Linked DNA regions of Homo sapiens: region 2 is linked to region 1. The links are contacts of gene promoters, found by promoter capture Hi-C in blood cells and fetal thymus (Javierre and others, 2016). All regions are on one chromosome and are shown on one strand. The core of a region is centred on a gene start or on the middle of the fragment in contact, and the rest is flanking DNA. Distances in the headings are between cores, read along the strand shown. Region 1 holds the start of PHETA1 (PH domain containing endocytic trafficking adaptor 1). Region 2 has its middle 10 kb from the start of LINC01404.

Evidence for each region. Contacts are between HindIII fragments. The CHiCAGO score rates a contact against its expected background, and 5 or more counts as called.
Region 2: a fragment that was not itself captured here is called in contact with the fragment with the promoter of PHETA1 in region 1 in 1 of 17 cell types (M1 macrophages); the score reaches 5.9 in M1 macrophages.

The regions. Positions count from the first base shown.
Region 1 is chr12:111,364,209-111,370,699 of GRCh38, forward strand. It overlaps PHETA1 (PH domain containing endocytic trafficking adaptor 1), which reads right to left and starts at 4,887. Exons shown (of 3, transcript NM_144671.6): 1 at 4,704-4,887; 2 at 1,905-2,049. It overlaps LINC02356 (long intergenic non-protein coding RNA 2356), which reads left to right and starts at 5,053. Exons shown (of 4, transcript NR_187522.1): 1 at 5,053-5,112. RefSeq lists a silencer at 4,478-5,057. The HindIII fragment of the contact is 8,438 bases long and covers 1-5,458 here.
Region 2 is chr12:110,944,599-110,951,093 of GRCh38, forward strand. No RefSeq gene overlaps it. Among named protein-coding and RNA genes, the nearest start is that of LINC01404, 10 kb to the right of the region's middle. The HindIII fragment of the contact is 1,468 bases long and covers 752-2,219 here.

The DNA.
Region 1 (6,491 bases), core at 3,637-6,136:
TGGTGGCGGGCGCCTGTAATCCCAGCTACTCGGGAGGCTGAGGCAGGAGAATCACCTAAACCCAGGAGGCGGAGGTTGCAGTGAGCCGAGATTATGCCATTGCACTCCAGCCCGGGCAATAATGTGACACTCTGTCTCAAAAAAAAAAAAAAAGATGGACACGGTCCCTGCCCTCGTGGTGTTGAAATGCCACTGGCAAGTGAAAGGGAGCAGACAGTTAACAAACAGATAAGACGTCTGCCAGGTAGTCTCATGTTCTATGGAAAATAGTAAGACAGGGGCTGGGCACAGTGGCTCACGCCTGTAATCCCAGCACTTTGGAAGGCCAAGGCCAATCCTTCTCACCTGAGGTCAGGAGTTCGAGACCAGCCTGGCCAACATGGCAAAACCCCATCTCTACTAAAAAACAGCCAGGTGAGGTGGTGCACGCCCATAATCCCAGCTACTTGGGAGACTGAGGCAGAAGAATCGCTTGAACCCAAGAGGCGGAGGTTGCAGTGAGCCAAGACTGCGCCATTGCAGTCCAGCCTGGGCGACAGAGCAAGACTCCATCTCAAAAAAAAAAAAAAAATAGCCAGGCATGGTGGGGGGTGCCTATAATCCCAGGTACTTGGGAGGCTGAGGCAGGAGAAGTGCTTGAACCCAGGAGACAGAAGTTGCAGTCAGCCGAGATTGCACTACTACACTCCAGCCTGGGGACAGAGCCAGACTCCGTCTCAAAAAAAAAGAAAGAATTTGGGGAAAGATGCAGGCCCAGGGCTAGGCTGACTTACAGGAAGGAGGGGCAGGGGGTCGACCCGTGCCATTTAGCATAGAGGACTCTAACTCCATGCCATCGGCCACAGTGACCCCATCCACCTTCCCCCAAGGAGTATATGATGGGGCAACGCTGGCCAGGAAGGACTTGTCGGGAGGTGGCATCTGCGTCCCTGGCCTGGCCACCTTCCCTTGGGGTTTTCCATGGCCATTTTGAGAGCCTGCCTTATCTCCCACTGCAGAGCCTCAGCCTGCATAGGATGGTAGCTACATTTTTCAAGAAGCAAAGGATATAAAGTCCTGGTACGCAGTAGGCACTCAGTGTTCATTCCCCTGCCTGGGTGGTGTCTTTCTCAGAGCCTGGTGGAATGAGGTCAGGGTGGTGGCTCTCCTGGGAGCAGGTGACCGCAGTGAGGCCCTGCCAGACTACCTGTCCTAGGGTGGAGGGGGTTGTCCTTGCCACCTCCTGTCAGCCACATAGGCAGTCAGGGAAGGCTTCCTAGAAGACGGAACATGAGTTGTGACTTAGAAACTGAGATCAACCAACCCAAATGCCCATCAATGATAGACTGAATAAAGGAAATGTGGTACATACACACCATGGAAAACTATCCAGCCATAAAAAGGAATGAGATCATGTCCTTTGCGGGGAAATAGATGGAGCTGGAAGCCATCATCCTCAGCAAACTAACACAGGAACAGAAAACCAAATACCGCATGTTCTTACTCATAAGTGGGAGTTGAACAATGAGACACATGGACACAGGGAGGGGCAGAACACATATCGGGGCCTGTTGGGGGATCGGGGGTGAGGGGAGGGAACTTAGAGAACGGGTCAATGGTGCAGCAAGCCACCATGGCACACGTATACCTATGTGACAAGCCTGCATGTTCTGCACATGTATCATGGAACTTAAAATAAAAAAAGAAACTGAGGTCAGTTTGTCCTGACCTAGTGGGAGGCCAAGGCCAGAGCCCCCAAAGTCTCCAGGTGTTGAATCCCCACCCTGCCTCTCAGCTACAGCTGTCCCTCTCTAAGCCGCAGGGATTCACGCATTCCCCACACCACCACCCATCAACTCCCATGTGGATGCTGGCCCCGGTTCTCACAGGACCCTCCCGCCCTGCTTGCCCAGTTCCGCTCCTACCTCTCAGGCCACCACTTGCCTCCCTGCCCTCTGCTCAGCTCCAGCCTCAGCTCGCTCTTCTCTGGATTCAAATGTCAGCTCTGCAGCATCTGGGCTGGGGGACCCCAGGCAGGCTATTCATCTCTCTGGGCCTCTGTTTCTGCATCTGTAAAATGGGATCGTAACAGTGCCTAAGTCAGGGCTGTTGTGACAATGATACAGTGACTATATGGACTTTGCGGAGCATGGGGCCAGGCACACAGTGCCTGCTGAGCGCGGTTGCAGTTCACATTTTTCTTGGCTTTTCCCCAAACATCCCTGTGTTGTGCTTCCGATCTCAGCAAATGGCCCTTGGTTTCCCTCTCACCCCCGCATCTGATCGCACATCAAGTCCAGTTGATCCCCCTCTCCAGCGTCTTCCAAATCAGTTGCCTAATCTGTCCACTCCACCTCCCCATTCTAGGCCCCATCACCATTCACTGGGATGGCTGCTGTAGCCTCCTCATAAGTCTCCTTGCCCCTCCCTGTCCATGTTCCTCAAGGTAAGATCCAAGCCTCCTTCCTAAGCTCTTCTCCGAGCCACACTGAAATCCACTTCCCACAGATGGATCCTGTGAAAATTAAGTCCAATCACACTCCTCCTCTGCTCTAAACCCTCCCATGGCTCCCTACTTCTCTCAGCATAAAATTAAATCCTTAGGCAGGGTGCGGTGGCTCACACCTGTAATGCTGGCACTTTGGGAGGCTGAGGGGGTAGGATTGCTTGAGTTAGAGACCAGCCTGGACAACATAGCAAGACCCTATCTCTATAAAAAATAGAAAAAAAAATAGCTGGGCATGGTGATACAAGCCTCTAGTCCTAGCTATCTGGGAGGCTAACATGGAAGGACCCCTTGAACTTGGGGGGTGACATAGTGAGATTCTGTCTCAAAAAAAAAAAAAAAAAAATCCAAGCCTCCCTTGGCTTCCAAGTTCCCTTTCCCTACCTCTTTCCCCCTTGTTCACTCAGCTCCAGCCATCCTGGCCTCCTTTCTGTTCCTCAAATACACCAGACACATCCCCACCTCCAAGACTTGGTCCCGGCTGTCTGCCTGCAGGTCTTCACAAGGCCAGCTCCCCATCCTTTGGTCTCAGCCTAGCTGTCACCTCCTCAGAGAGGTGGTCCCTGGCCACCCTATGCACAAGAGGCCCCCCAGTCCCTCTCCTGTGCCTCCACCTGAAATTAATACCTGGGTCATTTCTGCCTGCAGGGGCGTTTGTGGTCTGAATTCTAGTGCCTGGCATGCAGTAGGTACTCACACAGCTGTTTGATTCATTCTGCAGTATCTTCTGAAACCTTTCAACAGCCCCAAGACAAGGGATCTCACCCCACATTCACAGATGTGGAAATGGACACAGGGAGATTCAATAAGTTGGCTAGAGGCATACAACTGTGCCCAGAATCACATGCTCCAGGCAAGCCACCCAAATAAAGGGGCTGATCTTGGGGTCTCTCCACCCCATCAAGGCCAAAGGAATAGCAACTTCCCTCCTGCTCAGCAACCCTCCTCCCCCGACTGCCTAGATAGAGGCCAAACTGGTTCAAGGTCACCAGCAGGCACAGGACCCAGCTCTGCCCATGACCCCTGCCTCCACCAGAACTGGGAAGACAGGAAGCTGCAGGGGCACAGGCGCCAGCCTTGCCTGGAGCGAAGGCCTGGCCCCTGCCTTATCTCCCCACACTGTTTTCCAAGAAGTTCAGAGTCCACTGTGGGCACTGCTGCTGATTCAACAGCCCATGGCCAGACAGGAAGCTGGAGGGAGCCTGGCCCAGCTCTGCTCCCAAGGCAAAGTTCCTGCCTCCGCAGGTCCAGGCTGGAGGACCTTGGACAAGTCGTTTCACCTTTCCAAGTCTCAGTGTCCTCATCTGTTAAATTGGGCTGTGTGGCGAGGGTTCATGAGCTAAAAGAAGGAAAACCCACTGGCAAACTATGGGAAATGGATTGCAAATATTAGCTGCTGTGAGTCGGAGTTTTTTCTCAGCCTCATCTGCAAAATGGTGACGTTAACTTCCATCCCTCTAAGGGCTGAGTGAATTGACTCCTGAAGAGTCATTTTGCAAAATACTTGGTGGGTAGTGAGCTTTCAGGGAAAGAGCTGTCAAAAAGGCAAATAATTCATCCAAGATCTCCAGGGGCACAGCTGGCCCCGGAACCCAGGTCTCCTGGGAGACTGAAGCATGGCATTTTGGCACTCACATCAACGAAAAGAAGCCAGTACCGCAGGTCCTGGGGTTGAATCCAGCTGCCCTCAGTGTCCCCCAGCAGCGGGCGTGGGGAAGAGGGTGTGGCAGGCACAGGCTGAAAAACATGTGTGCCAAGAACACTAAAGAGCAGCCTGGCCGTCACCGCCCCAGCAGGGACCCCAGAGACACGCCAGCACCGCCGTCCAGACACAGGCAGCCCCCTTGTCCACGGCAGGGGCTGCTGCTCCAGGTGTGGCCCTGCTCCCGGCTGCTCTCTGTCCCTTTGTGTGTTGTGCGTGGGAGCTCTCTTAAGTTCCTTAAAGGACAGCCAGAGCCCCAGATGGGTGATCAGCGGCAGAATGGGGGGCTTATCCGCAGTCCCCACCAGCGGCAGACGTCCCTATGGGCTGAGAGAGGGGAGGGTGGTCATTGGCCAAGTTCGCCTCGGCAGCTGGAGAAGTCACCACTGGTGCGGAGTCCCAGCGGGGAAGATCCCCGCAACGCGCTCTCCAGGTGGCCGGGGGACCCCGAGGCCCAGGGCGGCCCGACCCGGGTCCCATGTCCTCGTGCATGTCCCCCCGCCAGGCCCGCCTTACCTCGCAGCGCAGGCCTAGGGCGGCGACGGGACGGGAGGCGCGAGGTTGCGGGGTGGCCCGGCCATGGTTCGGGACTGGCCCGGTGGCGGCGACGGCGGCGGCAGCGCTTTGTCTCCTGGGCGGCCGGGCCGGCGCAGCCGCGGGAGAGCGCGGATCCGACGGAAGGAGGCGGGAGCAACCGGACAGTCCGCGACCCACGGGCGCGCCCCTTTAACCCTTCCCAGCCTGCTCGCGCCGGGCCCGCCCCCGCGTTCTTCCCACCTCCCGATTGGCAGGCCCCGAACCGGCACGCCCCCGTGAGCCCGCCCTCGAAATCACTCTTAAAGGGTCCGCTCCTGGCTCGCGACTCCCCAGTTCCCTAGCCCAGAAAAGCGGATTGGAGCCCGGGAAGCTCATTGCGATTCCAAAGGTAAGGACTGGCCCAGGTCGTGGATTAGCCTGCAAAAGCATTTGGGGGTCCTGGGCGGGCCATTCGCTGAAGTCCTAGGCTTAAGTCCGAACTCCCCCCAGGACGAGGCAGGAGGATTGCCTGAGCCTAGTAGTTCAAGACCAGCCTGGGCAGCAGAGGGAGACCACCATCTCTACAAATAATAAAAATATTTGCTAAACCTGGGTTGCCAGGTTTAGCAAATTTAATGCCCAGTTAAATTAGAAAAATAGCTCTAATTCCTGAAAAATGTGTGAGTGGCAGAAAAAACAGCTGAATCCAGGACATTTGCGTACAGCACTGTTCCATACGGACAGGGCGCCTCGCAAGCTTCCCCTGGCTCCAGGTGAAGAGAGGAAGTTCTGGAATTAGGCAGACTTGAGTTCGAGTCGCACTAGGCCACTGAACACTGTGTGAGCTTAGAGAAATCATTTCACTTCTCTAAGCCTCCGTTTCCTCATCCGGAAAATAAAGACCATCATGATATGTAAAGTGCACGGCACAACAGAAAGCTCTCAAGAAATAGGAATTGCTGTTGTTTTTGCCCTGCCCACCTCCTTGAACCCTTCCTTCCTGTTCCTGCCGCCTCTTCTCCACCACCCGCCACCTCCCAATCACTATTAAGTCCTGGCCTGAAAGCAGGAAGAACAGGACAGACCAGGGTCAGCTCTCCATTGTACAGCCTCTCACTAAGCGCCTACTGTGTGCCAGGCACTGTACCTGAACCAGGTAAGCAGGTGCAGCCAGGAATCAAGACAACACAAATGAGTTCTGGAAGTGATTCATGCTAGGACTGTACGCTAAGGCAATGGGGCAGAAAGCCTGGGAGTGCAGTTTTTTTGTTTTTGTTTTTTGTTTTTTGTGTTTTTTTGTCACCCAGGTTGGGGTGCAGTGGCACAATCACAGCTCATTGTAACCTGAACTCCTGGGTTCAACCGAGCCTCCCACCTCAGCCTCCCAAGTAGTTGGGACTACAGGTGTGTACCACCACACCCGGCTAATTTTTTTTAATTTTTTGTAGAGATCGGGGGGGTCTTGCTATCTTGCCCAAGCTGGAAGTGCAGCTTTTAGACAAGGTGGTCAGGGAAGGCCTCTCTGAGGACAGACCTGGAGGAATGAGGGAGGGAGCCATGTGGTTATCTGGGAGAAGGAGGTCCCAGGCAGAGGGAACAGCAAGTGCAAAAGCCCTGAAATGGGGCCATCCTGGGCATGTTTGAAGAACAACGAGGAGACCAGTGGAGCCAAGTGAGCAATGGGAAGAATAGTAGGAAAATAGGTCAGCTGGCTGGGCGCAGTGGCTCACGCCTATAATCCCAGCACTTTGGGAGGCCGAGGCAGGTAGATCACTTGAGGTCAGGAGT
Region 2 (6,495 bases), core at 236-2,735, 420 kb before region 1:
TCGAGACCAGCCTGGCCAACATGGTGAAACCCTGTTTCCACTAAAAATACAAAAAAAAAAAAAAAAAAGCTGGGTGCGGTGGTGCATGCCTGTAATCGCAGCTACTTGGGAGGCTGAGGCAGGAGAATCTCTTGAACCTGGGAGTGGAGGTTGTAGTGATCTGAGATCACAACACTGCACTCCAGCCTGGGCGACAGAGTGAAACTCAAAAAAAAAAAGAGTCCAGTTCAGTGGCATTAAGTACATTGACACTGTTGTGCAACCATCACCACCATCCATCTCCAAAACTTTCATCACCAAAATTTGAAACTGTGCACCCATTAAACAGTAACTCTCCATTCTCCCTCCCCCAGCCCTTGGTAGCCCTTATTCTACTTTCTGTCTCTATAATTACTCCAGGAATCTCACATAAGTGAAATCATACAATATTTATCTTTTTTGTGTGTCTGGCTTATCTCACTTAGCATGATTCTTCAAGTGTCATTCATGTTGTAGCCTATGTCAGAACTTCCTTCCTTTTTAAGGCTGAATAATATTTCATTGTGTGGATAGACCACATTTTTGCTTATCCATTCATCCATCGATGGACACCTGGATTGTTTCCATCTTTTGGCTATTGTGAATAGTGTTGCTGTGAACATGGGTATACAAATATCTTTTTAAGTCCCTGCTCTCAATTCTTGTGTGTATATACCTGGAAACGGATATCTTTAACTTTTAATGTTGTCTGTGACTCTTTTTGGTATGCAGAAGCTTTACATTTTAAAATACTCATCTATCAATATTTTTCTTATTGCTTTGGCTCTGGGTTCATTTCTATACTATTTTTAGAGACCTCTAGGTAAAGGTTCTATTTATTCATTACTGTGTAACAATGTACCCCATAACTTAGTGGCTTGAAATAAATAATAATCATTTATTTTGGTTGTGAATCAGCAATTTGGACAGGACTTAGTGGGGTCAGCTTGTCTCTGTTGCATGGGGCTTCAGCTGACACAGCTCAATGTGGGTGGGAAGATCCACTTCCAAGATGGCTCACTCACGTGGCGTCTTGGTGCTAACCATTGGTTAGGAGCTCAGCCTAACCTCAGGCATTAGACTGAGAACTCTGGTTCCTCTCCATCTGGGTCTCTTCAAAGGCTACTTGGGCTTCCTCACAGCATGGTGGCTGGGTTTCAAGATTGAGCATCTCAGTAAATCGAGGCAGAAGTATACGGTATTTTTGTGACCTAGCCTCAGAAGTCACATGGTATCACTTTTACTGTACTCCACCAGTCAAGAAAGGCATAAATGCCAAACCAAGTTCAAGTGGGGATGGAACATAGATTCCACCTCTTCATGGAGGAGTTGCAAAGTTCCAGAAGGGCATGTGGGCTGGGAAATATTACTGCAGACATTTTTTGGAAAATATAATGTGCCAAGCTCACTCTCTGGCCACAACAATTCATATCCCTTTCACATGTAAAATACACTCCTCTGAGACCTCCCAGGAGTTTCATCCCATTACAGGATCAGGCTTAGTATCAAGGTCCAGGATTTTATTATCTAAATCAGGTCCAGGCCCACATTATGCTCCTCAGGTATGATACTTTGGGGACAGCTCTTTGAGTACTTTTCTTTTTGACCTGAACATCTGTAAAATAAAGAGCAAATTAACTGCTTCTTACACACTCAACATGCAGTCATGGGTCAGGCACAAGACAACTGTTACAGGCACTCACATTTAAAGAGGTAGAAAACAGGAGGTAAATCACTGGTCCATAACAATTCTAAAATCCAGCTGGGCAAATGTTGCTAAATGTTGCCAATTCCTTGACTGGGACTCAGGATTGTTCCCTAGATATGATTCTGAGTCACTGTTATTTTCCATAAAGTACAGCCATGTTTGCAGCTGAGGGTTTTTCTTGGCTTGCTTCCTACCTATAGAAGTTTGGAAAACCAAAGACCTCATTTTATTTTCTATTCTCTCAGTTCCTTTTAGTTCAAGCAGGCACAGCTTCCACCAGAACAATTCTATTAAAAACACTGTGTGTTTCCTACGAATCTTATTGAGATTCATGCCATTAAAGAAAAGCCAAAATCACAAATCTCTTTGAGATAAGCCCTTTCTACCGTGGGTTCCCATTGAGATCACTGTAGATCAATGCCTTTAAGATCTTAAAAAGGCTTGTCATATAATGGAAAGTGCCTGTGAGGCATGGCCTATAGATCCTTAGAGAAGCTTTTCTGTACTGGAAAGGTTCTATGAGGCACTGCCATAAATCTTTCTTGTGTCTTAAAGGAACTTACAATCCCACCTGGATTCAATATTTGGTCTGAGGCCCTTCCTTTTTTTTTTTTTTTCTGATGGAGTTTTGCTCTTGTCGCCCAGGCTGGAGTAGAATGGCATGATCTCAGCTCGCTGCAACTTCCGCCTCCCGGGTTCAGGAGATTCTCCTGCCTCAGCCTCCCAAGTAGCTGGGATTACAGGTGCGCACCACCACGTCCAGCTAATTTTTTGTATTTTTAGTAGAAATGGGGCTTCACCATGTTGGCCAGGCTGGTCTCAAACTCCTGACCTCAGGTGATCCACTTGCCTCGGCCTCCCAAAATGCTGGGATTACAGGTGTGAGCCACTGCGCCCAGCCATTTCCTTCTTTTTCTTTGCTGTGTCTCTCACCTCTCCATTTTCTAAGTCAAAGTTACTGAAGTAAAATTTATATAGAGAAAAATTTGCCCTTTTTAGGGGTATAGTTCTGTAAGTTCAACAAATGCATATAATTACGTAACTACCACTACAATCACCCAAAAAACTTCCCTTGTATAGGTTTGTAGTCATTTCTATCACCCACCCAGCCCCTGGCAGTTCCTCATTTATTTTCTGTCCCTGAAGTTCTGCCCTTTTCAGAATGCCATATACAGGGAATAATGCAGTATGTGAGTAGAATCCCATTGTATGGATATTCCATAATTTGTTTATCCATATTGGTGGATACTTGTCTATTACAAATAAAGCTGCTATGGACATTGATGCTTACAAGTCTTTGTGTGGATATATGTTTTTGTATTTGTTTGCTATGGGTGCTATAACAAATCACCACAAACGTAGAGGCTTCAAACAACACAAATTTATTATTTTATAGTTCTGGGGGTCAGAATTTTAAAATGAGTTTCACTGGGATAAGATCAAAGTGTCAGCACAGCTGCATTCCTTCTGGAGGCTCTAGGAGGAATCTATTCCCTTGCCTTTTCCAGCTTCTAGAGGCCACCTGAATTTATGGCTTGTGGCTCCTTCCTCCATCTTCAAAGGCAGCAATGACAAGTCAAGTCTTGTCACATGATGTCACTCTCACACTCACTCTTCTGCCTCCCTCTTTCACTTATAGGGACCCTTGTGATGACATCAGGCCCACCTGGATAATCCAGAACAATCTCTCCATCTCAAGATCCTTAATCTAATCACATCTAAAAAGTCTCCTTTGTCATGTAATTTAACATGTTTATGGGTTCCAGGGATTAGGGCATGGACATCTTCAGGGGCCATTATTTTGCCTACCACAGCTTTCTTTTCTCTTGGGTAAATACCTAGGAGCAGAATGGCTGGATCCTGCAGCAGGTGTTTAACTTTTTTAAAAAAATTGCCAAACTGGTTTCCAAAGCGCTTGTACTATCTTACATTCCCATCAGCAATGTACAAGAGTTCCAGTTCCTCCACATTCTTCCCCAGCATTTGGAATGGTCAATATATTAGATTCCAAGGGTTGCTGTAATTAATTGCCACAAACTGGGGGTCTTAAAACAAGAGAAACGTGTTTTCTCACAGCTCTGGAGGCCAGAAGTTTAAAGTCAAGAGTCAGCAGGGTTGATTCCCTCTGGAGGCTCTCAGGGAGAGAGCTTCTTGCCTCTTCCAGCTCTGGTGGCCACAGATATTCCTGGGCTTATATATACATCACTCCAATCTCTGTCCCTGGCTTCACATGGCATTCTCTTCTCTGTGTGTCTCTGTGTCTTCATGTGGCCTTCTTAAGGACAACAGTCAGTCAGTAGATTTAGGGCCTACCCTAATCCACTATTACCTTGCTTTAACTAATTATCTGAAAATATCTTATTTCCAAATAAAGTCACATTCTGAGGTTCCAGTGGACATGAATTTGGAGGCGACCCTATTCAACTCAGTATAGCCAGTCTTTTAAATTTACCATTCTAATAGGTATGTAGTAGTGTCTCATTGTGGTTTAAATTTGCATTTTTGTAATGACTAATAATGCTAAACAACTGGTCATGTGTTTATTTGCCATCTTGTTTGGTGAAATGTCTGTTCAAATCTTTTGCCCATTATAAAAGCTGGGCTGTTTATTTTCTTATTATTGAGTCTTGAGAGTTCTTTATGTATTGTGGATACAAGTTTTTGTTTTTCTTTAATTCAGATGTGTAACTTGCAAACATTTTCTCTCAGTCCATGGCTCACATTTCCATTCTCTTAAAAGAGTTATTCAAAGAGCAGAAGGTTTTAATTTTGATGAAGATCACTTTTTCAATTTTTTTATGGCTCATGCTTTTGATAGTGTGTCTAAGAACATCCCGTTTGCCTAACCCAAGGTCACAAAAATTTTCTTTTTTTTTTTTTTTTTGCCATTGATTTATCTTTATTATAGTTTAATGGAACAATTTGATAAGAAGACATATCTAATATAGCTTAGATGAACAGCTTATACAGGTTCAGTATCCCTTATCTGAAATACTTTGGACCAGAAGTGTTTGGGCAGATTTTGGAATATTCGTATTATGCTTATCGGTTCAGCTTCCCTAATCTGAAAATTAAAATTCAAAATGCTGCAGTGAGCATTTCCTTTGAACAACATGTTGGGCCTCAAAAAATTTCATATTTCCAGTGTGTGTAGATGGTGTCACCTGGGGCTTGAGTGGCTACACATGAGTATCAAAGACAATGGCCAAGAACAAATTAAGTGGGCAGAAGTATAGGAATGTATTCACATTGCCGCCAAAAAAACTTTAAAGCTAAAAAGAAAGTAAAACCAGTTACCACTAATTTTTTTTTTTTTTTGAGACAGAGTCTCACTGTGTTGCCCAGACTGGAGTGCAGTGGCACGATCTCGGCTCACTGCAACCTCCACTTCCCGGGTTCAAGCGATTCTACTGCCTCAGCCTCCCGAGTAGCTGGGACTACAGGCACGCACCACTGTGCCCAGCTAATTTTTGTATTTTTTTAGTAGAGACGGGGCTTCACCATGTTGGTCAGGCTGGTCTCAAACTCCTGACCTCCTGATCCACCCACCTGGGCCTCCCAAAGTGCTGGGATTACAGGCTTGAGCCACCGTGCCCAGCCCAGTTGCCACTATTCTTTTTTTTTTTTTTTTAATTTAATTTAATTTAATTTTTTTTTTATTGATCATTCTTGGGTGTTTCTCGCAGAGGGGGATTTGGCAGGGTCATAGGACAATAGTGGAGGGAAGGTCAGCAGACAAACAAGTGAACAAAGGTCTCTGGTTTTCCTAGGCAGAGTGTTTGTGTCCCTGGGTACTTGAGATTAGGGAGTGGCGATGACTCTTAGCGAGCATGCTGCCTTCAAGCATCTGTTTAACAAAGCACATCTTGCACCGCCCTTAATCCATTTAACCCTGAGTGGACACAGCACATGTTTCAGAGAGCACAGGGTTGGGGGTAAGGTCATAGATCAACAGGATCCCAAGGCAGAAGAATTTTTCTTAGTACAGAACAAAATGAAAAGTCTCCCATGTCTACTTCTTTCTACACAGACACAGCAACCATCCGATTTCTCAATCTTTTACCCACCTTGCCCCCTTTTCTATTCCACAAAACCGCCATTGTCATCATGGCCCGTTCTCAATGAGCTGTTGGGTACACCTCCCAGACGGGCTGGTGGCCGGGCAGAGGGGGCTCCTCACTTCCCAGTAGGGGCGGCCGGGCAGAGGCGCCCCTCACCTCCGGGACGGGGCGGCTGGCCGGGCGGGGGGCTGACCCCCCAACCTCCCTCCCAGACGGGGCGCTGGCTGGGCGGGGGGCTGAGCTCCCCACCTCCCTCCCGGACGGGGCGGCTGGCCGGGCGGGGGGCTGACCCCCCCACCTCCCTCCCGGACAGGGCGCTGGCTGGGTGGGGGGCTGAGCTCCCCACCTCCCTCCCGGATGGGGCGGCTGGCCGGGCGGGGGGGCTGACCCCCACCACCTCCCTCCCGGACGGGGCGGCTGGCCGGGCAGGGGGCTGACCCCCCCACCTCCCTCCCAGACGGGGCGGCTGGCCGGGCAGAGGGGCTCCTCACTTCCCAGTAGGGGCGGCCGGGCAGAGGCGCCCCTCACCTCCCGGACGGGGCGGCTGGCCGGGCAGGGGGCTGACCCCCCCACCTGCCTCCCAGACGGGGCGGCTGGCCGGGCGGGGGGCTGACCCCCCCACCTCCCTCCCGGAAGGGGTGGCTGCTGGGTGGAGACCCTCCTCACTTCCCAGACGGGGTGGCAGCGGGGCGGAGGGGCTCCTCACTT